Linked DNA regions of Homo sapiens: all the other regions are linked to region 1. Evidence: promoter capture Hi-C in 16 types of primary human blood cells and fetal thymus (Javierre and others, 2016). All regions are on one chromosome and are shown on one strand. The core of a region is centred on a gene start or on the middle of the fragment in contact, and the rest is flanking DNA. Distances in the headings are between cores, read along the strand shown.

Region 1 (3,585 bases), core at 1-2,500:
TGGAGTGCAGTGGTGCGATCTCGGCTCACTGCAAGCTCCACCTCCCGGGTTACGCCGTCCTCCTGCCTCAGCCCCCCCAGTAGCTGGGACTACAGGCGCCCGCCACCACGCCCGGCTAATTTTTTGTATTTTTAGTAGAGACGGGGTTTCACCATGTTAGCCAGGACGGTCTTGATCTCCTGACCTCGTGATCCACCCGCCTCGGTCTCCCAAAGTGCTGGGATTACAGGCGTGAGCCACTGCGCCCGGCCTTCTTTTTTTACTGTTCTTCGTGGAGCAGGGGTATGCATAAGCAGTGTGCCCAGAGGAGCCCCCACTAGGATTTTTGACTTACCTTCTCATCCTAAGAGTTTATCCTTTGCTGTATCTCCAGCTCCTAAAACAGGGGGCCTGGTGCACCATAGGCGCCCATGAAGCATCAGTTGAATGAGTGAATTCTCGGGGCCAGACACTGTCCTAAGCACTTTACACATGAGACCTCACTGAATCCCCACACAGCAATTCTATTATTGTCTGCATTTTTCAGCTGAGCAAACTGAGGCACAGAGAGGGTAGGTAACTTTTGTAAAGTTCAACAGCCGGTAGGTGAGGGGTCTGGGTTCACACTTGGTATTCCATATCCTCAACGTTCACATTTCAAATGCCCGGCTCTCAAGCCTCATCTGGCTGTCAACATCAGGGATGGGGTCTGACGCTGCCTGGGACAAGGACAAGGATGAGATGAGGTTCCCAAATCCAACTGGTGGTGGGGACCACATCTCTCTTGACTGCTAAGGACCCGGTCATGTCCACCTGATGTGTTTGTCCCTGACAACTTGCCTTCCCTCTGGAAAGAGGAAAGTCTTCCCCACCTGAAACCCCCAGCGTGTGCTTCCCTCACCACAGCTCCTATCATGTCATAAAGGATTTATTCTCCCATCTCGCTGAGGGTCCCGAGGCCCTGACTCCCAGGGAGCTGGCCAAGTGGTGTTCTCCTTCCTATGTAGACAAAGGTGCATAAGGAAAGTGCTGCAGCTATGGGACCTGGTGACCTCAGGAGTCTAGACTTACAAGTCTGGACAAGCCCCTCTGGGGGCCTCAGTATCTTCACCATCGGCGTCCAGTGGGGGTGGGAGCAGAATGGCTTCCCAGCCCCAGCCTCACCCCAACAGCACGTGATGCCCAAGTTCCCCTTCTGTGCGCGTCCACAGCTCTCACTCACCCTCCGGCTTCCTGTCGGGGCTTTCTCAGCCCCACCCCACGTTTGGACATTTGGAGCATTTCCTTCCCTGACAGCCGGACCTGGGACTGGGCTGGGGCCCTGGCGGATGGAGACATGCTGCCCCTGCTGCTGCTGCCCCTGCTGTGGGGGGGTGAGTGAGCTGAGGGAGGAGGGACAGGCACAGGGGTGAGAAGGGGGGCTGGAGCTGCAGCTGAGCTTCTGTGTCCCCCCAGGGTCCCTGCAGGAGAAGCCAGTGTACGAGCTGCAAGTGCAGAAGTCGGTGACGGTGCAGGAGGGCCTGTGCGTCCTTGTGCCCTGCTCCTTCTCTTACCCCTGGAGATCCTGGTATTCCTCTCCCCCACTCTACGTCTACTGGTTCCGGGACGGGGAGATCCCATACTACGCTGAGGTTGTGGCCACAAACAACCCAGACAGAAGAGTGAAGCCAGAGACCCAGGGCCGATTCCGCCTCCTTGGGGATGTCCAGAAGAAGAACTGCTCCCTGAGCATCGGAGATGCCAGAATGGAGGACACGGGAAGCTATTTCTTCCGCGTGGAGAGAGGAAGGGATGTAAAATATAGCTACCAACAGAATAAGCTGAACTTGGAGGTGACAGGTATGGCAGGAACCCTAGGAGAGGACCCTGGGACGTGGAGACCCCCGTATGAGAACAGGGACAGGAGTTGGGCAGGGGCGGCTGGAGGAGGTGTAGGACTTGGGGCAGGTCGGGGCCTGAGGCCTGGCCACTCTCGGGGTCACACCTTACGTCCTCAAGCCCCTGGGGCCCAGGTATCTCCCTGTCTCCTCCTCAGCCCTGATAGAGAAACCCGACATCCACTTTCTGGAGCCTCTGGAGTCCGGCCGCCCCACAAGGCTGAGCTGCAGCCTTCCAGGATCCTGTGAAGCGGGACCACCTCTCACATTCTCCTGGACGGGGAATGCCCTCAGCCCCCTGGACCCCGAGACCACCCGCTCCTCGGAGCTCACCCTCACCCCCAGGCCCGAGGACCATGGCACCAACCTCACCTGTCAGGTGAAACGCCAAGGAGCTCAGGTGACCACGGAGAGAACTGTCCAGCTCAATGTCTCCTGTGAGTGGTGCTGGGGACACAGCTGAGTCCCCAAGGGCAGTGGGAGTGAGGGGGGTGTGTGTGTGTGTGTGTGTGTGTGTGTAGAAGAGAGAGAGAGAAAGAGAATGATAACCAGGGAAAACTCGTGTGTGGGCAGGAAGGACAGCGGTCCCCACCTGGTGGGTTTCTGTGGCCCCTCCTTGGGTCCCTCCCGGGACCACGCCCATCCCTCTTGTCACCTCTGAAGCTGGTGCTGTATCTTTCTATCCCAGATGCTCCACAGAACCTCGCCATCAGCATCTTCTTCAGAAATGGCACAGGCACAGGTAGGAAAGACCCTCTTCCCTCTGGGGCTGTGATGGGAGCCTTCTATTAGCTCAGGGTTCAGCATTGGGAGAGGAGACCCTCCCTCACCCCTCAGCCCCTGGGTCTGGGTCCTTCCTGCTCCCAACCCCCCAATCCCAGTCACTAAGATCTTGCACGAACAGACCTAGTATTTCTTTTGGCTTCTCCCTTTTCTCTGCTCTCTTTTTCAGATTTATTTTTTCATTGTGAGAAAATACACATAGCACAAAATTTGTCATCTTAGCCATTTTAAAGAGTACAGTTCAGCAGTGTTAAATGTGTTCACATTGTTGCAAAACCAAACTGCAGAGCTCCTTTTATCTGGCAAAACTGAAACTTTGTACCCACTGAACAGCGACTTTCCACTTCCCCCTCCTGCCACCGAGCAGTCACCATTCTACTTTTCTGTCTCTGTGAGTTTGAGTACTCAGGACACGCTGTTCCCTTTTCTTGAATTTCTGCCTGCTCCGATGTCCTCTGATGCATGCCCTGCTTCATCTCTAACTGATCGTCCTTTTTGGGAGCCTTCGACTTTCCCACCTCCCACAGCTCTGTCCCAGAACCCAGTTCTTCCCCTCCACATTCCTGAGTAATCCGATCTCTCCTTGACCCTGTCCTGATGCCTCCCACAACTTTATATCCAGCCCTTTCTCTGAGGCACAGATCTGCACATTTAGCCACCTCCCTCGGATGCTTCTCGGCTCCTCCTTCCCTGTTGATCCCAGGGCTGTTCTGGACATCGCTGTAGACAGCACCCTTTCTCATCAGCTGTTTCATGAGTCCGCAAGTCTTAACACCTTTACTTCACCAATCATCACTTCCCTCCTCATCCCCTTGGTTCCAGGCCCAGCTCAAGTCTCGTGCTCAACCCTGGCCCATTGCCCCAGCCTCCTCCCAGCCTCCCTGCCTCCTATCCCACTTCTCTCCAGTCCGGGACCTACTTGGCTCCAGCAGGATCTTTCTAGATC
Region 2 (3,585 bases), core at 464-2,963, 230 kb after region 1:
GAGGAGCTGCTGGAGGGGAACAGCAGCCAGGACTCCTTCGAGGTCACCCCCAGCTCAGCCGGGCCCTGGGCCAACAGCTCCCTGAGCCTCCATGGAGGGCTCAGCTCCGGCCTCAGGCTCCGCTGTGAGGCCTGGAACGTCCATGGGGCCCAGAGTGGATCCATCCTGCAGCTGCCAGGTTAGGGGGCCGCCTGGATGCCAAGGTTCTTGGAGGAGAAGCTGACTGGGGCAAAGAGTAGGGTCCTGTGGTTGGAGCAGGAGCTTGGAGGGACACAGCAGACCCGTGGCATCTGTATGTAGACAGGAAAACACAATGGGAAGTCCTAACACCTGGGCCGGGGTGTGGCAGGGTTTCCTAAAAGTAAACAGAGGGGTTGCAGATACAATGTCCGCCATGGGAACCGGAAGCCTTAATGCCGAGTGATGAGCGGGCTTCGTGAGCCCTGCGTGGATGGGAAATGCTCACCTTGCCCTCTCCGTGTGCAGATAAGAAGGGACTCATCTCAACGGCATTCTCCAACGGAGCGTTTCTGGGAATCGGCATCACGGCTCTTCTTTTCCTCTGCCTGGCCCTGATCATGTAGGTTAAGAGGAGGCGTGGCGGGGTCTGGGGCCTGGACCCAGGAAGAGGGGAGGTGTTGCAGGCCGAAAGAGTGAAGGTCGTGATCAACGCAGTATACCTCTGGAGGTTACATGAGTAAACAGCAAACTGTTCTCATAAATGCAGAATGTTGTCCAACTGACAAACTGCGTCTGCTTCCCAGAGGGAATGCTGAGGGCAGTCACGCCCCAAGCGAAGTGTTTCTTGTAATTAGGCACAGCTGAAGCTTGTTAGTAATAATATGAACCTGTGATCAATTAAACAGCTGACCAATTGTTACCTCCTGCTCTCTGCTCTTTCTACCCAATAAATACAAAGGGCTGTAGAGGCTCAGACAGCTGCCCTGGCTCACTAGTAGCAGGGAACCCTCTTCTTCTTCCCCTGACCCCTTCCTTTAAAATAATTTCTTTTGTCTTAAGTTTTCATTTCTACGTTTGTCCTCCTTCTTTCAGTCTCATAATGACGGTCTCAAGTGGTAACAGTAGTAACTGTCATAGTGACGGTCTCAGGTAGTAAACGTGGCAGTCTGTCACAGGGAGGTGCAGCAGGGCACAAACAGGTGGGTTCATTTCCTCAGCATGAAGATTCTACCGAAGAGACGGACTCAGACAGAAACCCCGAGGCCCAGGTTCTCCCGGCACAGCACGATCCTGGATTACATCAATGTGGTCCCGACGGCTGGCCCCCTGGTGAGTGTCTGGGCCATGCTTCCACTTTTTCTCTTCTCTAAAGCTGACATCCCACTTTCTGACTTTTGCACCCCTTGTCTTAGCGACATCAAGGTGGGAAAAGCACCGATAGTTCTGAATTCAAATCCTGCCTGGCACTTACTAGCTATGAGACCTCAGCCACGTCACTCACCCCCTCTGAGCCTTCATTTCTTCCTCTGTCTCCTTTGAGAGTTGGTTTGAGGATTAGAATACATGCACTTTCTCAATCTGTAGCCATTGTTCCATTATTACTGCCACCATTGACATGACTACACTTAACTGCTTAACAATTATGTGTATCATCGGGAGGCTGGGCATCCTAGGGATTCAGCACAGGGGGTCTGAAATCAGCCTGCATGGGTTCAAATCCTGCTGTCATCACTGTGTCATGAAACAAGTGTCTTAACTTCTCTGTGCCTCAATTTCTTTAGCTGTAACATGGAGACAATACTAGCGGCCACCTCCTAGGATGATGCTGGGTGTTAAATATATTGTACTTGCATAATAAAATATTCAGAATATCACCTGGCCCCTGGGTAATACTCTGTAAATTCTGGAAATTATTAAGAGATAACATCTTATGCTGATGACTGCAAAATTGTATCTCGTGGCTCCTTCCCTGAAGACTGTCTATGCAACATCTCCATGTGGGTGTCTAATCAGCACTTCAAACTTAGCCTGTCCAAAACCAACTTAAGATAATTCCCCAGCCTGAGCAACATAGTGAGACCTCTTCTCTACAAAAAAAATAAAAAATTAGCCGGGTGTGGTGGTGCATGCCCATTGTCCCAGCTACTTGGGAGGCTGAGGTGGGAGGATCTCTTGAGCCTGGGAGTTGGAGGCTACAGTGAGCCATGATGACACCATGCACTCCAGCCTGGGTGACAGAGTGAGACCCTGTCTCAAAAAAAAAAAGGCCACGCCTGCTGGCTCACACCTGTAATCCCAGCACTTTGGGAGGCCGAGGTGGGTGGATCGCCTGAGGTCAAAATTTTAAGAGCAGCGTGTTCAACATGGTGAAACCCCATCTCTACTAAACATACAAAAAATTACCTGGGCATGGTGATGGGTGCCTGTAATCACAGCTACTCGGGAGGCTGAGGCAGGAGAATTACTTGAACCCAGGAGGTGGAGGTTGCAGTGAGATCATGCCACTGCACTCCAGCCTGGGCAACAAGAGCGAAACTTCATCTAAAAAAAAAAAAAGACTAATTCCACCATTTATGCTCCATCTCTATCCCCATCTTAGCAAATAACACCACATTTTCCCAGCCAAGTCTAAAGCTTTAGAATCATATTTCACTCCTCTCTTCTCTGTCACCCCACAACCAATCCATCAGCAAATTCCCTTCAAAATACAACCAAGCCAGTTCTCCCTACTCTTCCCTCACTACTACAAGCCATGCATCAACACCCCCCACCCCACCCCGGGCACCACTGGCCCCTTCTGCATGCCTTCTCTGCTTCCGTTCTCACCCCCTCCAGTCTTTCTCTCCGTGCATGCATGCTATTCTTTATTTTATTTATTTTTATTTTATTTTATTTTTTGAGATGGGATTTCACTGTTGTTGTCTAGGCTGGAGTGCAGTGGCAAGGTCTCGGCTCACTGCAACCTCCACCTCCTGGTTCAAGCGATTCATCTGCCTCAGCCTCCTGAGTAGCTGGGATTACAGGCATCCACCACCATGCCCCCCTAATTTTTGTATTTTTAGTAGAGACGGGGTTTCACCATGTTGATCAGGCTGGTCTCAAACTCCTGACCTCAGGTGATCCACCCGCCTCAGCCTCCCAAAGTGCTGGGATTACAGGTGTGAACCACCGTACCCGGCTATCAATTATTTTTTTGAAACAGATTTTGTCTCTGTTGTCCGGGCTGGAGTGCAGTGGCGCAGTCTCAGCGCACTACAACCTCCACCTCTCAGGTTCAAGTGATTTTCCTGCCTCAGCCTCCTGAGTAGCTGGGACCACAGGCATGTGTCACCACGCCCGGCTAATTTTTGTATTTGTGGTAGAGACAGGGTTTCGCTATGTTGGCCAGGCCGGTCTTGAAATTCCCTGGATGACCTATTAAACAGTCATCCCACCCTCCCTTTCGCTGCCTTCTAAAGGTGCTCAAATTTCTTGATGGCATTTGTCACTTACCAGTCATTGTACTTTTGCTAATTATTGTCTGTTCCTCCTTCCAAGATGGAATGCAAGCTCAGCAAGGCAAGGGCAGGGACTTAGTTTCACTCTGTGCTGTAAATCAGTGCCCGACGCGTGGTAAGTGCTCAA
Region 3 (3,585 bases), core at 726-3,225, 210 kb after region 1:
CTGAGGCTGGTGGATCACTCGAGGTCAGGAGTTCGAGACCAGCCTGGCCAACATGGTGAAACCTGGTCTCTACCAAAAATGCAAAAGTTAGCTGGGTGTGGCGGCGGGCGTCTGTAATCCCAGCTACTCAGGAGGCTGAGGCAGGAGAATCACTTGAACCTGGGAGGCGGAGGTTGCAGTGAGCTGAGATCGCACCACTGCACTCCAGCCTGGGCAACAGAGTGAGACTGTCTCAAAAAAAATTATACAAAGACACTTTATTTGTAAGGTAATATTTAGAAGTTCAAGGAGCTGAGACTGTATTTCTTTGGGTGGCCATTATTCAGCTTGCTGAGCTGTCCATGTGATCTCTTATGCATTGGAACTCTTGTGCATTGCTGATGGGAAAGTTAAATGGTGAAGTTGCTCTAGAGAGTAGTAGTGGGGTTCCTCAAAAAAATTAAAAATAGAATGATCTTATGATCCAGCAATTTCACCTCTGGGTATATGGCCCAAAAGATCAAAAGCCGGAACTTGAGCATAGTTTTATGCATCTGTGTTCACAGAAGCATATTCACAGTAGGTAAAAGGGAAAAGCAACCCTGCTATTCCTAAAAAGTGAATGAATAAACAAAGTGTATTGTATACATGCAATTGAATATTACTCAGCCTTAAAATAGAAGGAGAAGCTGGGCTGGGGCATGGTGGCTCACGCCTGTAATCCCAGCACTTTGGGAGGCCGAGGTGGGCATATCACTTGAAGTCAGGAGTTCTAGACCAGCCTGGCCCACATGATGAAACCCCATCTCTGCTAAAAATATAAAAATTAGCCAGGCATGATGACATGTGCCTGTAATCCCAGGTACTCGGGAGACTGAGGCAGCAGAATCGCTTGAACCTGGGAGGCAGAGGTTTCAGTGAGCCCAATCATGCCACTGCACTGCAGCCTGGGCAACAGAGCAAGACCCTATCTCAAAAAAAAAGAAAAAGAAAAAGAAAACAAAAAACAAAACAAACAAAAAAACCAAGGAGACAGGCATGGTGGCTCACACCTGTAATCCCAGCACTTTGGGAGGCCGAGGCAGGTGGATCACCTGAGGTCAGGAGTTCGAGACCAGCCTGGCCAATATGGTGAAACCCCATCTCTACTAAAAAAAAAAAAAAAAAGAAAAGAAAATACAGGCCGGGCACGGTGGCTCACGCCTGTAATCCCAGCACTTTGGGAGGCCGAGGCGGGTGGATCACCTGAGGTCAGGCATTTGAGAGCAGCCTGACCAACATGGTGAAACCCTATCTCTACTAAAAATACAAAATTAGCCAGGTGTGGTGGCACGTACCTGTGATCCCAGCTACTCGGGAGGCTGAAGCAGGAGAATTGCTTGAACCTGGGAGGTGGAGGTTGCAGTGAGCCAAGATGACGCCACTGGACTCCAGCCTGGGCAACAAGAGCGAAACTCTGTCTCAAAAAAAAAAAAAAAAAAAAATTAGCCGGGCCTGGTGGCAGGTGCCTGTAATCCCAGCTACTCAGGAGGCTGAGGCAGGAGAATTGTTTGAACCTGGGAGGTGGAGGTTGCAGTGAGCTGAGATCACGCCATCACACTCCAGCCTGGGCGACAAGAGTGAAACTCCGTCTCAAACAACAACAAAAAAAAAAAAAAAAAAAAAAAAGAAGGAGAAGCTAGCACATGATGCAGCGTGGATGAACCTTAAATATATTCTAAGTCAGTCACAGCAGGACAAACACTGTATGATTCCACTTATATGAGGTGTGTAGAGGAGGCAAATTCACAGACACGGAAAGTAGAGCCATGCTTGCCAGGGGCTGTGATCAGAAAGAAATAGGGGGTTTTCACCTCTTTGATGCAGTTTCAGTTTGGGAAGGTGAAGAAACTTCTGGAGATAAATCATAGTGATTCATAACAACGTGAGTGTACTTGGTGCAACTTCTCTAAACACTGAAAAATAGTTAAAACGGTAATTTTTTTCTTCTGTATATTTTACCACAATTAAGAAAAAAGCTACTGAAGATTTCATAGCCACCTCACCAAAAAAGAAAAGCAGATGGCGAACAAGGCCGTGAAAATAGCCTCAATATAATTTGTCATTAGGTAATTGTAGAATAGAAGAAGAATGAGGTAGAATTACATACCTAAGAAAAATGACTGAAAAGTACAACAAAGGTAACAAGAAATTTTAAAATATGTGGATGATATCACATGCTAGCAAGGATGTGAAGTGATCAGAGCTCATGTCTACTGCTGGTAGGAATACAAAATGGTATATACACTTTGGAGAATAGTTTGTCAATTTTGTATAAATTTAAACTTACACTTGACCAAGTGTACGTCTGACCAAGCACTCGACTCCTAGGTTTTTACTCAAGGGAATTAAAAACTTATGTTCACACGCAGAAAGTTGAATGGAATGTTTATAGCAACATTATTTTAGAGTCACCAGAACCTGAAAACAGTTGCAATGCTCCGCAAATGGCAAATACATGCAAAATGAGAGACCATGAAAACAATGGAGCACCAGTCAACAATTAAACTAAAATGACAGATTTATACCCAGCCCCATAGATGAGCCTCAAAAGCATTATGCCAAGTAAATGAAGCCAGATTTTAGAGGATACATTTTGTATGATTCCATTTATATGACATTCTATAAAAAGGCAAAATGGCAGGGATGGAGAATAGATCCGTGTTTTCTCAGGGACTAAGTGTAGAGGGAGGATTGACTACCTAGAGTCAGCAGAGGGAGGAAATGTTCAGGTAATGACACTTTTCATTGTCTTCACAGCGGTTGTGTATATAACTATATGCATCGGTCAACCCACATAAAATTACATATGATAAAGAATGAATTCAACCATATCTAACTTTAAGTAAATTTTTAAAAATTAAACATAAGATGCCACTGCACTGTCACTAGAACTCTTAAAATATAAAGCATAAGCTGGGCACAGTGGCTCACGCCTATAATCCTAACACTTTGGGAGGCCAAAGAGGAAGAATTGCTTGAGGTCAGGAGTTCAAGACCAGCCTGGGCAACATGGTGAGACCTCATCTCTACAAAAAATACAAAAATTAGCCGGGCGTGGCAGTGAGCACCTGTGGTCCCAACTACTCGGGAGGCTGAGGTGGGAGGATTGCTTGAGCCAAGGAGGTGGAGGTTGCAGTGAGCCGAGATGGTGCCACTGCACTCCAGCCTGGCGAGAGATTGAGACTCCGTCTCAAAAGAAAAAAAAATACTAATTGTTTGCAAGAATATGGACAAGTGGGAGCCCCTTTGCACTGCATGTAAAATGGTGTGACCCTGTGGAAAACTCTTTGGAATTCTCTCCGAAAGTTAAGCCTAGAAATACAGTGTAATCCAGCCATCGATTCCTAGATATGTTCCCAGAATTGAAAGCATGAACTTAAACAGATACCTATACATCAATGTTCATAGCAGCATTATTTACAAGAGCTAAAAGGTGGGGAAAAAAAAAACTCGCGTCCATTGACTGATAAGTGGATAGAAAAAAGGTTCCATATCCATAATATGGGATATTCTTTAGCCTTAAAAATTGAATGGAACTGATACATGCTATAACATGGGTGAACC
Region 4 (3,585 bases), core at 664-3,163, 180 kb before region 1:
TACACCAACATTTAAAAGTCAGAAAAGAGCCAGTCAAGGAGATTGAGAAAGATAAATCACTGAGGTAGGAAGAAAACCAAACAAGTGTGATGTCACCAAGAGAATTATATATTTTAAAATAAAAGGGTGTGGACAACTGAGTCATATATGCTTAGGGGCCTAAGATTCCCATCATTATCAGATAAGCATATATGACTTAGATTTACTCCATTGGATTCATAGGCAAGCACCAAATGTCTGAACCTGCAGTGCAGTAACATGGCAATGGATGTCACTGTTGTCCTTGATAAGAGTAGTCCCACTGCAGTAATCAGGACATGAACCCATTTAGAATGAGTTCTGGAGAAAATGTGAAATGAGGAAGTAGAGAAAGAAACTGGAAGTGACCCTTGAGTTTGCTGTCAAGGAGAGCAGAGAAATTTGTTGTAAAGTTCAGGAGGACGCGTGTGGTACAAAAGGTTTTTATGTTTTCAGTTAGTAGATTAGAGAACAGATGTATATGCTGATGGCAAAAACACAAAAAGAAAATGGCATGATAAAGTAGACAGAGAGACTATTTTCATTTCTTCCACTCAATTTCTACTAATTTATATTAGTTAATGCTTCATCTTTCCTCTGTTTTTTTTTTTTTTTTTAAACACTAGAAGCATATGCTATGTCAGTCAGGTTTCCACCAGATAAATAGGACTCAAAATGGATCACAGACCTAAATGTAAAAGACAAAATTATAAAACTCCTAGAAGATAACAGGAGAAAATCTAGATGACCTTGGGTTTGGCACCCTGTTGTTTTGACTTTACAAATTGTTACTAAAAACATCTGGGGGTGAGCTCCATTTGCACTGGCCTTGTGGGCAGTTGTTTCCCTTTTGAAGGTGCCCCACTTGACCTCTGAGTGGCTAGTGGGGACAAGGAGTGATAGCAGGAAGGAATGCAGCAACCAAGGAGGCACTGGCCTCAGCAGCACTTGCTCTTGAAAATTGCCAAGGGGACTTGTGCAGTTGCCATATTACAGGTTAGGCTTAGGTGACTTGATCCTTTCATCCTGGCTCTCCTTTATCAACACACTGAAGCCCAGCATTTTATCATCTTTTCTGACTTCACTATGAGGGAATTGCTGCTACCCAGGAGCCTGGTATCCTGTGGCTCTCTCATCAGTGAGATGTGTAGGAGATCGGTCAGGATGGTGGGAAAAGTTGTAAGATAAATTATAGGAAAAGGATGCAAACCTTCTTGGAAGGCCTGGGATTTGCATAGCTTCAGAAGAGGATTTGGCTGAAGGCAGCTGAATTTTCTCAGAATGGATAACAAGGAAGTGTAAAGGAATTGATCTAGATAAGTTAGTTTACTTAGGCCTCGGAACCTGGTATTTAATCATCTGTGCACAGGACTGCTGTCTTGGGGGGTGGGGGGTGACAATGTTAATTACCCACAAGACGTGTTGACTCCAGGCCTTTGTCATTAAATCTGTACTGAATAAATGCCCACAGTGCCAGCTTGTCGGGGCTGTGGCTACTGACTCTTTACAGCTCCCTCCTCGGTGTCTGTGAGCTGCCCAGTCCCCTAGCCTGCTTTTTCACTGGATATCAGTCTCAGAGTGCATTTTTCATCTGTCATTCGGCCAGGTTGGACCCTGGCAGAGATGGACATAGAGTTTCACCATACTGGCCAGCTCACTCTGGCTGGAGACCAGGACTTTGCAACTTATACCCAGTACAGGCCAGACTACTACCAAGACCCCATGTAACAAGAGCAGCATATATAGCTCAAGGGACAACGTGCCCTCAAGTAGTGGCCTGTCACCAGGGGCCTGATTAGAGAAAGAGTGACTACTGTTCATAGCGAAACATCCTCATTACAATGAAACCTGCCCTCCAGGAGCTGCAGGGGAGCCTGAAGGCTCAGAGAGCTGTCTATATTCACCAGAGTTTCTGGAGAGTCCCCAAGGCAACACCTGACAACAGCAGTACTAAGTTGCACAAAGCAACAAAAAATCTAAAACCAGCAAGCAGTAGTGCTGTCCCAGACCGACCAGGCCTGATACAGGAAGTTAGTGAGCCATCCACATGGACATACATTGGGAAGTATTTCTTTGTGGTAACTGTCCCATAACTTTAAAAAAAAAATCTCAGTTTCCTGAACCCACAATATATCATAATGCAATGGGAATTGAGACTCCACAATGAAAACTCCTAAAGAGGAAAAGAAAAATGGAGAGGATGTAGCAGGCACTGTTCTACTGCAATTAACCAAGGCCAGTGGGAAGGAATAGTAAGAATCCCCTGTCCTGGCAGTGGAGGAAGTCTCTTAATTAGCCCATCTGGAAGCCCTGGCTCTCCTATCTAGGTTTTGTCCTTGTGCCTTTTTATTTTCTTTTTCTTTTTCTTCTCCTTTTTTTTTTTTTGAGATGGAATCTTTCTCTGTCTCCCAGGCTAGAGTGCAGTGGCACATTCTCAGCTCATTGCAACCTTCACCTCCCAGGTTCAAACAATTCTCCTTCCTCAGTCTTCCAAGTAGCTGGGATTATAGGTGCACACCACCATGCCCAGATAATTTTTGTATTTTTAGTACAGACAGCGTTTCAACATGTTGGCCAGGCTGGTCTAGAACTCTTGACCTCAAATGATCCACTCACCTCGGCCTCCCAAAGTGCTGGGATTACTGGAGTCAGCCATCATGCCCAGCCTTGTTCCTTATTTTCTATGGCTACACCTTGGCTGGGCATTTAAGAATATACACCTCCTGGGAACTCTAAAGCATTTATAGGAGTCAAACGTGCAAATGAAATGCGCAAAGTGCTCTGCCTTGGAAATGCAATAACTTTAGGAGAGACAGAAGGGAAAAGGAGAAGAAAATGAGTAAAGCAGTGGGGTGAGTGAGAACACTGATAACAGGATTGCCTGATATTCATGTTGAGTGGTGTCTTTTGCCAGTGCATCAGGAAAGTATGTTCACAATACAGAATTGACAATTTCTGAGTGTTTATGTGCAGAAAGCAAGGTAAAGGGCTGAGTTATGAGTTATTTATTTAAATATGAAGTCTTTAGGCAATGGTTAACCAGAGTAGTTTACTTAAGCAGAAACTCAAAATCAGAAATGTTCATGAAAATGTAAGCCAGCTGGGAATTTACAAATACTGTGGACATGAGGATGGGAATTTACTAGACCTGACCTGATTCATATTATGAGGGCTGGAGATAATTTTGACTGGACATTAAGTGATATTATTGTTTATCAATGCCATAAACATTTATTGAGTGCCTATCACATATCAGACACTATCTTATTTGCAGGGGATTGGGATCCATCAGCAAACAATATAGACCAAAATACCTGCCCTCAGATAGCTTACATTCTCATTACTTGAAAGAAACATATCAAGTACCATACAGTTATTATACTGTCTCATGCCAATAAGTGAAACCACATTTGCAAAAATTTTGACAGTGAGAGAAATCTAACGTGGCTGACTCCTTCCTGCCTCTAGCCTCAAAGGTTATCTGTCTTTGTTCACTCCTGGTTGTAGGCTAAGATAACTGGGGAAGAATTTAGTTTATAGTTTAACATGGAAGCAAGGATGATAGTA
Region 5 (3,585 bases), core at 788-3,287, 160 kb before region 1:
TTGGTCCAGATGGACAGTCATGTACTTTTCAGTCTTATGTTGAAAATATAGCTATCAATTTATGGGGTTGAGACTTACTTATAACATGGAATATGAGACTTACAAATGAAAACTTTGATAACCCAGGATTTAAAATGTTGAAGAACATGAGATATCAGAGGGGAAAATGTTTAGGAAAATTTCTTCAAGGAAATCCTAACCCAATATCAGTAACTGGAAAAACAGATAGAAAAGGGCTAGGACGTCAGGATTTCTGACGAGGGTCATTGATATTTCTCCTCTGCCCACTGCCTCACTATTAGAATGGCTCAGTGACAAACCCGTGTGGGTGGATCAATGGCCCCTATCTCAGGAGAACCTGATGCAACTTCAGCAGCTAGTAAAAGAACAATGGGATGCCGGACACATAAGCTTGGAATTCTCCAGTGTTTGTTTTTCCAAAAAAGTCCGGAAGATGGCGACTACTACATGATTTAAGAGCTATTCATGTACACATAAAACTGATGGGTGCCTTACAAAAACTTTCACCATCTCCAGCGGCTATTCCAAGAGACTGGCCTCTTGTAGTAATAGATCTTAAGGATTGTTTCTTTACTACACCCTTACACGAGAAGGATAAGCCTTGATTTGCATTCTCTGTGCCTTCTATTAATCAAAGAGAACCTGTTTCTCATTATCAATGGAGAGTTTTACCCCAAGGCATGCTTAACAGTCTTACGCTATGTCAGCATTTTGTAGGACAGGCATTAAAGAAGCCTCGGAATATGTTTCCTACTGCTTACATCATTCATTATATGGATGATATTCTTTTGGCTGCTCCTACAGATCAAAACCTACATCAGTTATTCAGAGAAACAAAGCAGGCTTTGACTAAATGGAATCTCAAAATAGCTCTAGAAAAGGTACAAACAACTTCCCCATACCAATACTTAGGAACTATTGTTACAGAGAGAAGTGTATGGACTCAGAAAGTAGTTCTCCATAAAGACAGGTTATAGACTTTAAATGATTTTCAGCAGTTATTAGGAGATATTAATTGGCCATGACCGATGTTAGGTATTGCTACCTATCAACTTACACATATTTACCAAACCCTGCACGGAGATTCTTTAAATTCCCTGCAGCAACTAACTAAAGAGGCAGAAGCCAAATTACAGCTTGTAGAGCAAATGTTACAGCAGAGACATGCCTCATGGCTACAACCACAAAAACCTTTGCTTTTGTTTATTCTTCCTACCCCCTACTCTCCAACAGGACTTTTGGGCCAGTTTATAGACTAGTCTGTAACAGTAATAGAATGGTTCTTTCTATCTAATCAAACAGTCAAAACCTTGCAAGTTTATCTTTCTTTAATTACACAAATTGTGACTATGGGCAGGCATAGGTCACAAATGCTTACAGGATATGATCCTGACAAAATTATTGTTCCTTTAGACTCTCAGCAACAAGCTGCAGCTTGGGAAATGTCGACTGCCTGGCAAACTGCTTTCGCAGACTTCATGGGCGTGATAGATAACCACTACTCTCAGACAAAATTTTACAGTTTTATAAAATCCATTCTTTCATTCTTCCTGTGATTACTCATCACAAACCTATTCCAGGTGGACAGACTTATTTTACTGATGGCTCTTCCAAAGGTCATGCTGCCATCTATGGACTAAAACATACTCAAACAATAAGGATCTCTGGGGTTTCAGGTCAATGCTCAGAGCTAGTTGCAGTCAGCTGTGAGGTTTTACAGCTCACAGCTTCAGATCCTATCAACTGCAGGGACCCGAAGGCCCATGGGACGTGACCAACTCAGCATTCCACTGGAGGCTATATGATCAAACAGCAAACTGTTTATCATGAATGCAGGATGTGGCAAACTCACACTGCGCTGCCACCAAAAGGTTTGTGGAGGGCCTCACTCCCTGGCTCCTTGAAGTTATCTATTGAGAGTTATCTATTGAGAAATCTAGCGCCTACTGTTTTAAGAATGCAGTCTTGCAAGCCTGCTGTGAATCAGGCTGCTAGCCAGCAACCACCCCCCCCACTTCCTGCTATCTCTTTTGCCTGATAAATACGGAGGGCTGTGTAAAGCTCAGGGCCATTGTCCACTAGAGGCAAGCTGCCCCCTGACCGCTTCTTCCAAATATACTCTTTTATCTCTTGTCTTTTATTCCCACGCTCGTCCCCTTTGTTCAGTCCATCAGGGATCGTGGCAGGCTACAATCAACATTGTCAACCATAAAGACAGGTTACAGACTTTAAATGATTTTCAGCAATTATTAGGAGATATTAATTGGCTACGCCCGATGTTAGGTATTGCTACCTATCAACTTACACATCTTTACCAAACCCTGCAAGGAGATTCTTCTTGTTCAGCTTATGTTGTAAATTTAGCCATTCGCATAGAAACTGCTACAGTTAAAAGTACGCTAGACCCAGAACTGCTTAATTTGTTTCACTTATTCTCATATGCTGCATGGTACATGCCAAACAGGTGAGACAGCTGGTCATGTACAGCGACATTGTCTGTCATCATTTGCTCATATGGGAATACCTAAACAATTAAAAATTGACAATGGACCTGCTTATACTAGTCATGCTTTTCAAAATTTCCTACAGCTTTGGGCTATAACCCATAAAACAGGAATTCCTTATAATCCTAGAGGACAAGGCATTATAGAATGGGCACATCAAACATTACAACGAATGTTGAAAAGACAAAAAGGGGGTATAGGAGGCCAACTACCACCTCAATCAAAACTACATTTAGCCTTATTTACTTTAAAATTTTTGACTCCTGGTACGGATGGTAAGACTCCAGCAGAAAGACATTGGCAAGTGTTAGAGGAAAAGAGGAAAGTTTATCTGAAAGTGTTATGGAAATCCCCAGAAGAAGGACAATGGAAAGGCCCGGTGGATTTACTGACATGGGGAAGAGGGTATGCTTGTGTGTTTACAGGAGATTGACAAGCCATGTGGGTGCCCTCAAGGTGCTTGCAACCCTGGAATGGGAGACTGGAGAAACATGGGGTGGCCAACCATGGGCCCAGTCCCTCCGGTACGAGCCATGAGTCAGCTGAGCCTGAGTGCAAAGATGGAGAGAAGGCCGACTGGAGTCACGACACAGTCTTAATGTTACATTTGTAAAGAATATCACCACTCAATTTGTGGTTTGTGTTTTTAATCCTTATGTCTTTTTGGCAGCTCAGAAGGACCAGCTCCAGGTAAACAATACCCAGTTGACCTGTAAATCTTGCCAGTTATATCACTGCATTAATCATAGCACATTGCGAACACATAATATCTCGACTTTGATGATTTTAGGTTGCATCCCTGGGCTAGGGATTCCTGTTAATCTGTCCGAGGCTTGGGCTGCCACACCTGCTTTGCATTTTGTGAAACTTCTTCTACTTCAGGTTACTTATTGTGCCCGTAGAGCCTTAGGCATGATAATTTTTGCTATCGTTTCCTTGGTCACACTAATAACTTCTGTTGTGATGTCCTCTGTAACTTTGCATAGTTCTGTTCAAACGGCTCAGTACGTAGAGAATTGGACACGTACAGCCAACCAAGCGAGGCTACTTCAGAATAAAA
Region 6 (3,585 bases), core at 695-3,194, 140 kb before region 1:
ACAGCTGAAGAGGAATTTGCCTCAGGATGAATCATACTTTGAGTCTCACCCATGTCTGACTGAGACGATCCTTAGATGATTTTTGCCCCATTGGAGTGAAAGTTCATTTTAAGACTCTTATTCTGTTTACTTGCCTCTAGGCATTTTTGTTAATCATGGGCCATTTCGTAGCAAGAAAGAAAACCTACTTATGTTTTGGTTTTTTGTTTTTTTTTTTTTTTTTTTTAGATGGAGTCTTGATCTGTCAACCAGGTTGGAATACAGTGGCATGATCTCAGCTCACCGCAACCTCCACTTCCCAGGTTCAAGTGATTCTCCTGCCTCAGCCTCCTGAGTAGCTGGGATTATAGGCATGCGCCACCATGCTCGGCTTATTTCTGTATTTTTAGCACAGATGGGGTCTCGCCGTGTTGGCCAGGCTGGTCTCGAACTCCTGACCAGCCTGGTGATCCGTCCACCTCGACCTCCCAAAGTGCTGGGATTACAGGTGTGAGCCACCATACCCAACTGCTTATGTTTTAATAACGAGAGTTTATGGGAAACATGCAGAGGCATCCAGGAACCCAGTTTTAGGAAGAATAATTGGACTTCAAAAGACTTGCAAATGTGTTTGGCAATTAGTCTCTGTGGGGTCCTTTGCCTCTTTTTTTCTCTTGACATCTGGGTCCTTCTCCTTTATGCATAATGGTGTCCTCTGCCATTTCCCTTATTTTAATTCCCCCCTCCCAACCATCACACACACACAGTATTTTGGTTTCCTTGTGCCTCTTAGACACATCTATACTTCTTACCCTTCCTTCCTTGGGAATCTTCTAAAATGCTTCTTGTTATTAGGACCCAAAGATAAATTTTTATAAAATAAATCTGAACATATCTCGCCTCAGATCTAAAATTTTCAGTATTTTTTCATTTCATCCCTATCTTCCTGGCATGAGATGCTGTATTGTGAGACCAGGAGCTATGGCAGCTATCTTGGGGCCGTGAGGTGGCAATTTCCAGGAAAAAAAAAACACACCAAAATAGTGATGAAAAAGTGAAAAGATCAAAATAAACTTATTAAATGATATAATTTGGACAGAAAGTAATTTAGTACTACTCACTTGCAAAATTCTTGGAAAGCAAATAAACCATAAATGTTGTCTTTGGTTTAAGCCATTGTTAGGTGTAATTTTAAATTATAAACTACTTAAAATTGTAAACAGCCTTAATGACACAAAGCCTTGGGAATAATGCTTTTAGGTGGACTACCTTATTTCTGTCTCTGCTTCCCATTTATCTCCATACCACTCTGATACCCTTGGATAGAACCTAATATTTCAGAAAGCCCACCACCTCTTTGCACTAGAAACCTACAAATGAGCTTCCACTGGAGCCAAAAATTATGGGGTTAATCTTGGGGTGCCTGGGTGTGGATGCTCTGTCCTGTCAACTTCTCTGCCTCCCTTCAATCTCTCAGTGGTTTTGGTCTCCATCCTTCTCGTCTTCATTCTGCCTTTCATTGCTTCCCTCTAATTCTTCTGTTACTGGAAGGGGTCCTGATCCAGACCCCAAGGGAGGGTTCTTGATCTCGCACAAGGAAGAATTCAGCGTGACTCCATAGAATAAAGTGAAAACAAGTTTATTAAGAAAGTAAAGGAATAAAGCATGGCTATTCCATAGACAAAGTAGCCCTGAGGGCTGCTAGTTGGCCATTTTTATGGTTATTTCTTGATGATACGCTAAACAAGGGGTGGATTATTCATTCCTCCCCTTTTTAGACCATATAGGGTAACTTCCTGACGTTGCCATGGCATCTGTAACCTGTCATGGCACTGGTGGGGGTGTAGCAGTGAGGACGACCAGAGGTCACTCTCGTGGCCATCTTGATTTTGGTGGCTTTTGGCCGGCTTCTTTACTGCAACCTGTTTTATCAGCAAGGTCTTTATGACCTGTTTTTTTGTGCTGAACTCCTATCTCATCCTGTGACTTAGAATGCCTTCACTGTCTGGGAATGCAGCCCAGTAGGTCTCAGCCTAATTTTACCCAGCTACTATTCAACATGGAGTTGCTCTGGTTCCAGTGCCTCTGACATCATTACAGTACTTGCTCCTCTCTTTACCTTGACCCTTGGAGAGAGAAGGGTCCTGGACACCCAGATTCCTTGGCCCTTTAGGTTGAGAGGGTTGAATCTCTGCATCCCACAAAGACTGAGGTTGAGAAACACAGTCAGGTACTTTAGTTCCTAAATGGGCCCACAACAATCCACTGCTATTAAAACAAGTAGTATATTGGTGTGTTCTTAGGGCCATTAAAAATCAGAAGGAGCTCTGCTTTCTGTTTCCTGTTCCCCAACTGGTTTCAGTTCTCTTACTCCTCCTCCTGTCCCTTGGGCTAACTTCTGCTGTGAAAATTACATGACAGTGACTCTCTCCAGGAGATCAGGACCTAGAACTTCCCAGAGCAAGGACCCAGCTGGTGGAATATAAAATCCAGATGAAGAACATATCTCTGGGGATGGGGAGCTTGTTAAGGGCATACTTAATAGACGCTTTGGAGTACAATAGACTCTTTGGAGTGAGTAGAAGAATGTGAAGTTGAAGAATAATTTCTTTTCTTTTCTTTTTTACTTTAAGTTCTGGGGTACACGTGCAGAATGTGCAGGTTTGTTTCATAGGTATACATGTGCCATGGTGGTTTGCTGCACCCATCAACCTGTCATCTGCATTAGGTATTTCTCCTAATGCTATCCCTCCCCTAGCCCCCCAGCCCCCGACAGACCCCAGTGTGTGATATTCCCCATCCCTGTGTCCATGTGTTCTCATTGTTCAACTCCCACTTAGGAGTGAGAACATGTAAGAGATTCTAGGCAGGGCGCGGTGGCTCACACCTGTAGTCCCAGCACTTTAGGAGGCCGAGGCGGGTGGATCACGAGGTCAGGAGATCGAGACCATCCTGGCTAACACGGTGAAACCTGTCTCTACTAAAAATACAAAAAATTAGCCGGGCGTGGTGGTGGGCGCCTGTAGTCCCAGCTACTCGGGAGGCTGAAGCAGGAGAATGGCGTGAACCCGGCAGGGCGGAGCTTGCAGTGAGCCGAGGTTGTGCCACAGCACTCCAGCCTGGGCGACAGGAGCGAAACTCCGTCTCGAAAAAAAATAAATAAATAAAAACAAACAAAAAACCCTCAATCTAAGTTTTACCTCCTTTATAAAAACTAATCCAAAATGGATTACAGATTTAAATATTAAATGCAAAACTACTAACTTTTTAGAAGAAAACATAGAAGAAATAGTGAAGACTTAAGGCTAAGCAGGGAGTTCATAGACACGACACCAAAAGCACAATCCATAGAAGAAAAAAGTATAAATTGGACTTAATTAAAATGGAAAATATTTACTCTTTTGAAAGTTGCTATTCGGCTTCAGAGTCAATATAAAAATTTTAAAAACATAGCAAATCATGACATTCCCCTGCTCTTCATTCTCCAGTGGTTTCCAAATTTCTAACTCATGCTTACCAAGCTCTACCAGAACTGGCGCAGACATCATTCGGTGGAAATCTACTCCCCTTTCACAGAATAGCAGGTGAATGCAGAGGCTGTTTCAA
Region 7 (3,585 bases), core at 779-3,278, 150 kb after region 1:
ACCATATCAGGCTCTAATCCTATTAGGCTAATCCAAACCACCTATCTAAACACCATGCCTTCTAATACTATCACATGGGGGTTCAAAGGTCAACAAATGAATTTTGAGGAGAGACATGTAGCTGTAGCACTTGTCACTCTGGTCCTTAATATCTTCCTCTCCAAATTATGGAAGTGGGTCTAGAGGGCCCATCAGCTCCTCTGAGTCATATGTGGTTCAAACGTTCTTCCTTTGCAGATTCTCTGTGGCTTCCTCATGTCTCTCCTTCCCATTTTTCTGCTTTTCTTTGCCAACTGGGGACTGTGGGAAAGAGATGGGCCGTGGTCGAGCCCTTCTTCCCATTGAGATGCTGCAACTGTCCTTACGGGAAGAAAGTGACACGGCAAGGATGGGGGCCCAGGAGCAGATTGGTCTGCAGGATGAGATACAAGCTGCAAATGCAGGAATTAGTGGTGTCAGGGAGAGGAGCAGCTATGCATGCCCCAATCCTGCACATTTCCTTTTCAATTATCACAGCCAACTGACTCTACTCCAGGTTATGGGCAATTGGGGACAACATGGGGATGGGAAGATCCATGGAGCTGAGTAAAATAAAACAGATTGTGGTTTTTATGTAAAAATAGTCTTTAGAAAAACCTATGCAAAGCCATAGTATTGAAGGCAGTGCACTCAGATGATAAAACTACATAGAAAAGCAAGGAGACCATTATCATTAAAGTGAGGCTGGGGCATCTTCAGGAGGAACTGCATGTGGCCTATAGGAAGGGGAAACACAGGGCTGAATAAATGAATGCAATTTCTTTCTTCATCTCATGGGAGAAATTTGGCAATTATCTTGTGATGTTCTATTTCTTGAACAGTGATAATTTGGTGAAAATCACTGAGTCATTTTTTTAGGTGGCACTTTTATTTACTTGTATTACATTTCCCCAAAAATCATTGTTTCAAGAAAAGCTGACATGGGTCTAAGGAGGGCGAATCTTGCAGGATTTTCCCCACCTTCCTCCCAGTACATAGCATACAGTTTCAAAAACTCTTCTGCTGAATTCAGGTGCATTTCTTCTCCCATGAAATCCTGTCCATCATTGAGCGTGGACACGCCAGGGCTGGTGTCCTCGCTCCACGTCTCCTGTTCACCTGAAACCCTGGGAGCAGAGCCTGCAGGAACAAAGGGCCAGCAGACCCCTCATGCTCTGGAGTAAGGAGGACTTGTGAGAGAGCAGTGGTGAAGGATCCCATCCTGAACCCAGAGAGCCATGGCCGAGAGAGAAACGCCTGCCCCTTTAGAAATCTGTCCCTTCCCATCCAACATTCCTCCCTTCCAGACCTCACTGTACAACAGTCACAGCCTTAGCTTCTCAGGCCTCCTGTGAACTGGGCTCTTCTCTGTGTCTTTGGTGTGTATCAACACACGGAATCCTCACCTCCACGACCCCGTGTCTCTCTGCTCAGTCCTCCCGAGACTGATTCCCCAACATAGGAGAGAGCGACCACACCCTGCCTGGTACCCCCACTGAAGCTCCTGCCATGGAGAGCTCAGATATCAGGAGCCTCAGTGTCTCCCCACTACACAGTGACTCTTTGGGGACAGTGTCTAGCTCTGCTGTGTTGAACTCCACCTCACGGCCGCTGAGGGAGGAAGGAGAGGTTGCCTGCTCATCCCACCTGCACCCCCATCTCTTATATCCTAGTGTCACCTCTGACCTACAGAGAGACATCCACAGCCTGTACTTCATAGGTCTGGCCACATGGGACTCATTTTCACCTTATGGAAAATATCACCCAAGGGGAAGGGCACTGAGAGGGAGGCAGTGGGCGGGGTGGGCCCTGCATGGGGTTGGAATCTGGGTGAGTCTTTCATCCTCTCTGGCCTCAGGGTCCCCAGGAGTGGACGGGGTAGTGGACGGTGGATCTTCCAGGGGTGACCCGGCCCTGACAGTGTCTGTGTGTGAAGTTCCTCCTGTGAGGTCACCGTTCAGAACCCACCCCCAACTTCCTGTGCGGCTTCCTCGAAATCTTGAGTTCTCAGTTCCTGAGAGAAGAACCCTGAGGAACAGACTTACCTCAGCAACCCTGGCACCTCCAACCCGACACATGCTACTGCTGCTGCTACTGCTGCCACCCCTGCTCTGTGGGAGAGTGGGGGCTAAGGAACAGAAGGATTACCTGCTGACAATGCAGAAGTCCGTGACGGTGCAGGAGGGCCTGTGTGTCTCTGTGCTTTGCTCCTTCTCCTACCCCCAAAATGGCTGGACTGCCTCCGATCCAGTTCATGGCTACTGGTTCCGGGCAGGGGACCATGTAAGCCGGAACATTCCAGTGGCCACAAACAACCCAGCTCGAGCAGTGCAGGAGGAGACTCGGGACCGATTCCACCTCCTTGGGGACCCACAGAACAAGGATTGTACCCTGAGCATCAGAGACACCAGAGAGAGTGATGCAGGGACATACGTCTTTTGTGTAGAGAGAGGAAATATGAAATGGAATTATAAATATGACCAGCTCTCTGTGAATGTGACAGGTAAGGCACGGGCTCCAAGAGAGGCCAAAGGCAAATGTGATGAGGGCTTTAGGGCACGGCTGAGACGGGACACATGTCCTGGGAGGGGGCCGGGGGTGATGGACTCAGGGGAGGAGCTGGACCAGAGCCTGAGCTTCCCCAGGACCGCACCTTGGATGCCCCTCCTGATCCTGCAAGCCCCTCCCCTCACCAGCCCTGACCCACAGGCCTGACATCCTCATCCTGCCTCTGACGCTGGCACTGTGGCATGTGGGGCCTTATGACTCCTTGTTTTGGGGCCTGTCCTAGGCATGGCCGGGGTTTAGCACCATCCCAGGCCTCTCCCCACCAGATGCCAGAAGCACCCACCCCACCCATGCAGCGAGACAATTATCTCCACACATTGTCAAACGTCCTGGGGGGTTAAGTCCTCCCCAGTTGAGAGCCTTAGGTCTACACAACCCCGTGACTCTCTCAGGCCAGGCCAGGGAGGAAGCACTTCCTGGCGCAAACCAAGGGCAGCAGAGGCACCTGAGCCTGGACAGGGAGACTCAGCACACGGCCCCTCCATCTCTCATGCCCCGAGGTCCTCGGAGATCCACATTTAGATGCTCAAAAGACAGGAGGGACCTCCACGATGGTCCAGAGGCCGGGAGGGCAGGACCTACGTGTCTGGTGCAGGCCCTGGTGCTTCAGGGAAGCCCGGAGGTAGGAGGCGGGACACGGTCTCTTCTCCTCCCTGGGTGGGTCTCTAGGGTCTCTGAGCTTTAGGGTTTCCTTCACTCTGTGCAGAGGGAATGAGTTCCTATAGCATGTGGGTTTGCAGTTTCTCTTCCATGCAGGGCTGAGGTCTCCAGCTCCTCTCCAGCCCCCTGTGGGTCCCACAGCCCTGCCCCTCCTCTCCCTCCCCCTTCTCTGCTCACACAGGGAGCCCAGGAAGCCTCTGCCTCAGAGATGCTGCTGCCCCTGCTATGGGCAAATGAAGAGAGGGACAGTGGGGGCTGGGCTGACCCTCGTTTCTCCACAGCGTCCCAGGACCTACTGTCAAGATACAGGCTGGAGGTGCCAGAGTCGGTGACTGTGCA

The links. Contacts are between HindIII fragments. The CHiCAGO score rates a contact against its expected background, and 5 or more counts as called.
Region 2: a fragment that was not itself captured here is called in contact with the fragment with the promoter of SIGLEC14 in region 1 in 7 of 17 cell types (megakaryocytes, erythroblasts, endothelial precursors and 4 more); the score reaches 16.8 in megakaryocytes.
Region 3: a contact is called between a fragment that was not itself captured here and the fragment with the promoter of SIGLEC14 in region 1, in 10 of 17 cell types (megakaryocytes, erythroblasts, endothelial precursors and 7 more). The highest score is 19.7, in megakaryocytes.
Region 4: a contact is called between a fragment that was not itself captured here and the fragment with the promoter of SIGLEC14 in region 1, in 4 of 17 cell types (monocytes, M2 macrophages, M0 macrophages and 1 more). The highest score is 14.0, in monocytes.
Region 5: a contact is called between a fragment that was not itself captured here and the fragment with the promoter of SIGLEC14 in region 1, in 1 of 17 cell types (monocytes). The highest score is 5.5, in monocytes.
Region 6: a contact is called between a fragment that was not itself captured here and the fragment with the promoter of SIGLEC14 in region 1, in 2 of 17 cell types (neutrophils and monocytes). The highest score is 9.7, in neutrophils.
Region 7: a contact is called between the fragment with the promoter of SIGLEC12 here and the fragment with the promoter of SIGLEC14 in region 1, in 11 of 17 cell types (total B cells, naive B cells, erythroblasts and 8 more). The highest score is 11.4, in total B cells.

Annotation. Positions count from the first base shown.
Region 1 is chr19:51,644,490-51,648,074 of GRCh38, reverse strand. SIGLEC14 (sialic acid binding Ig like lectin 14) reads left to right here and starts at 1,250. Exons shown (of 7, transcript NM_001098612.3): 1 at 1,250-1,352; 2 at 1,435-1,818; 3 at 2,015-2,293; 4 at 2,545-2,598. The coding sequence starts at 1,316. The HindIII fragment of the contact is 8,795 bases long and covers 1-3,585 here.
Region 2 is chr19:51,411,417-51,415,001 of GRCh38, reverse strand. It overlaps SIGLEC10 (sialic acid binding Ig like lectin 10), which reads left to right. Exons shown (of 11, transcript NM_033130.5): 8 at 1-178; 9 at 487-580; 10 at 1,179-1,290. Among named protein-coding and RNA genes, the nearest start is that of SIGLEC10-AS1, 2.5 kb to the left of the region's middle. The HindIII fragment of the contact is 1,768 bases long and covers 830-2,597 here.
Region 3 is chr19:51,431,502-51,435,086 of GRCh38, reverse strand. No RefSeq gene overlaps it. Among named protein-coding and RNA genes, the nearest start is that of SIGLEC10, 16 kb to the right of the region's middle. The HindIII fragment of the contact is 7,506 bases long and covers 1-3,585 here.
Region 4 is chr19:51,827,186-51,830,770 of GRCh38, reverse strand. It overlaps a transcript of ZNF577 not described here. Among named protein-coding and RNA genes, the nearest start is that of FPR3, 34 kb to the right of the region's middle. The HindIII fragment of the contact is 6,940 bases long and covers 1-3,585 here.
Region 5 is chr19:51,805,666-51,809,250 of GRCh38, reverse strand. The region is part of intron 1 of FPR3 (formyl peptide receptor 3); the gene reads right to left. It also overlaps a transcript of ZNF577 not described here. Among named protein-coding and RNA genes, the nearest start is that of FPR3, 12 kb to the right of the region's middle. The HindIII fragment of the contact is 3,247 bases long and covers 414-3,585 here.
Region 6 is chr19:51,785,604-51,789,188 of GRCh38, reverse strand. No RefSeq gene overlaps it. Among named protein-coding and RNA genes, the nearest start is that of FPR3, 7.8 kb to the left of the region's middle. The HindIII fragment of the contact is 5,296 bases long and covers 1-3,585 here.
Region 7 is chr19:51,500,243-51,503,827 of GRCh38, reverse strand. It overlaps SIGLEC12 (sialic acid binding Ig like lectin 12), which reads left to right and starts at 2,028. Exons shown (of 8, transcript NM_053003.4): 1 at 2,028-2,521; 2 at 3,528-3,585. The coding sequence starts at 2,095. The HindIII fragment of the contact is 28,149 bases long and covers 1-3,585 here.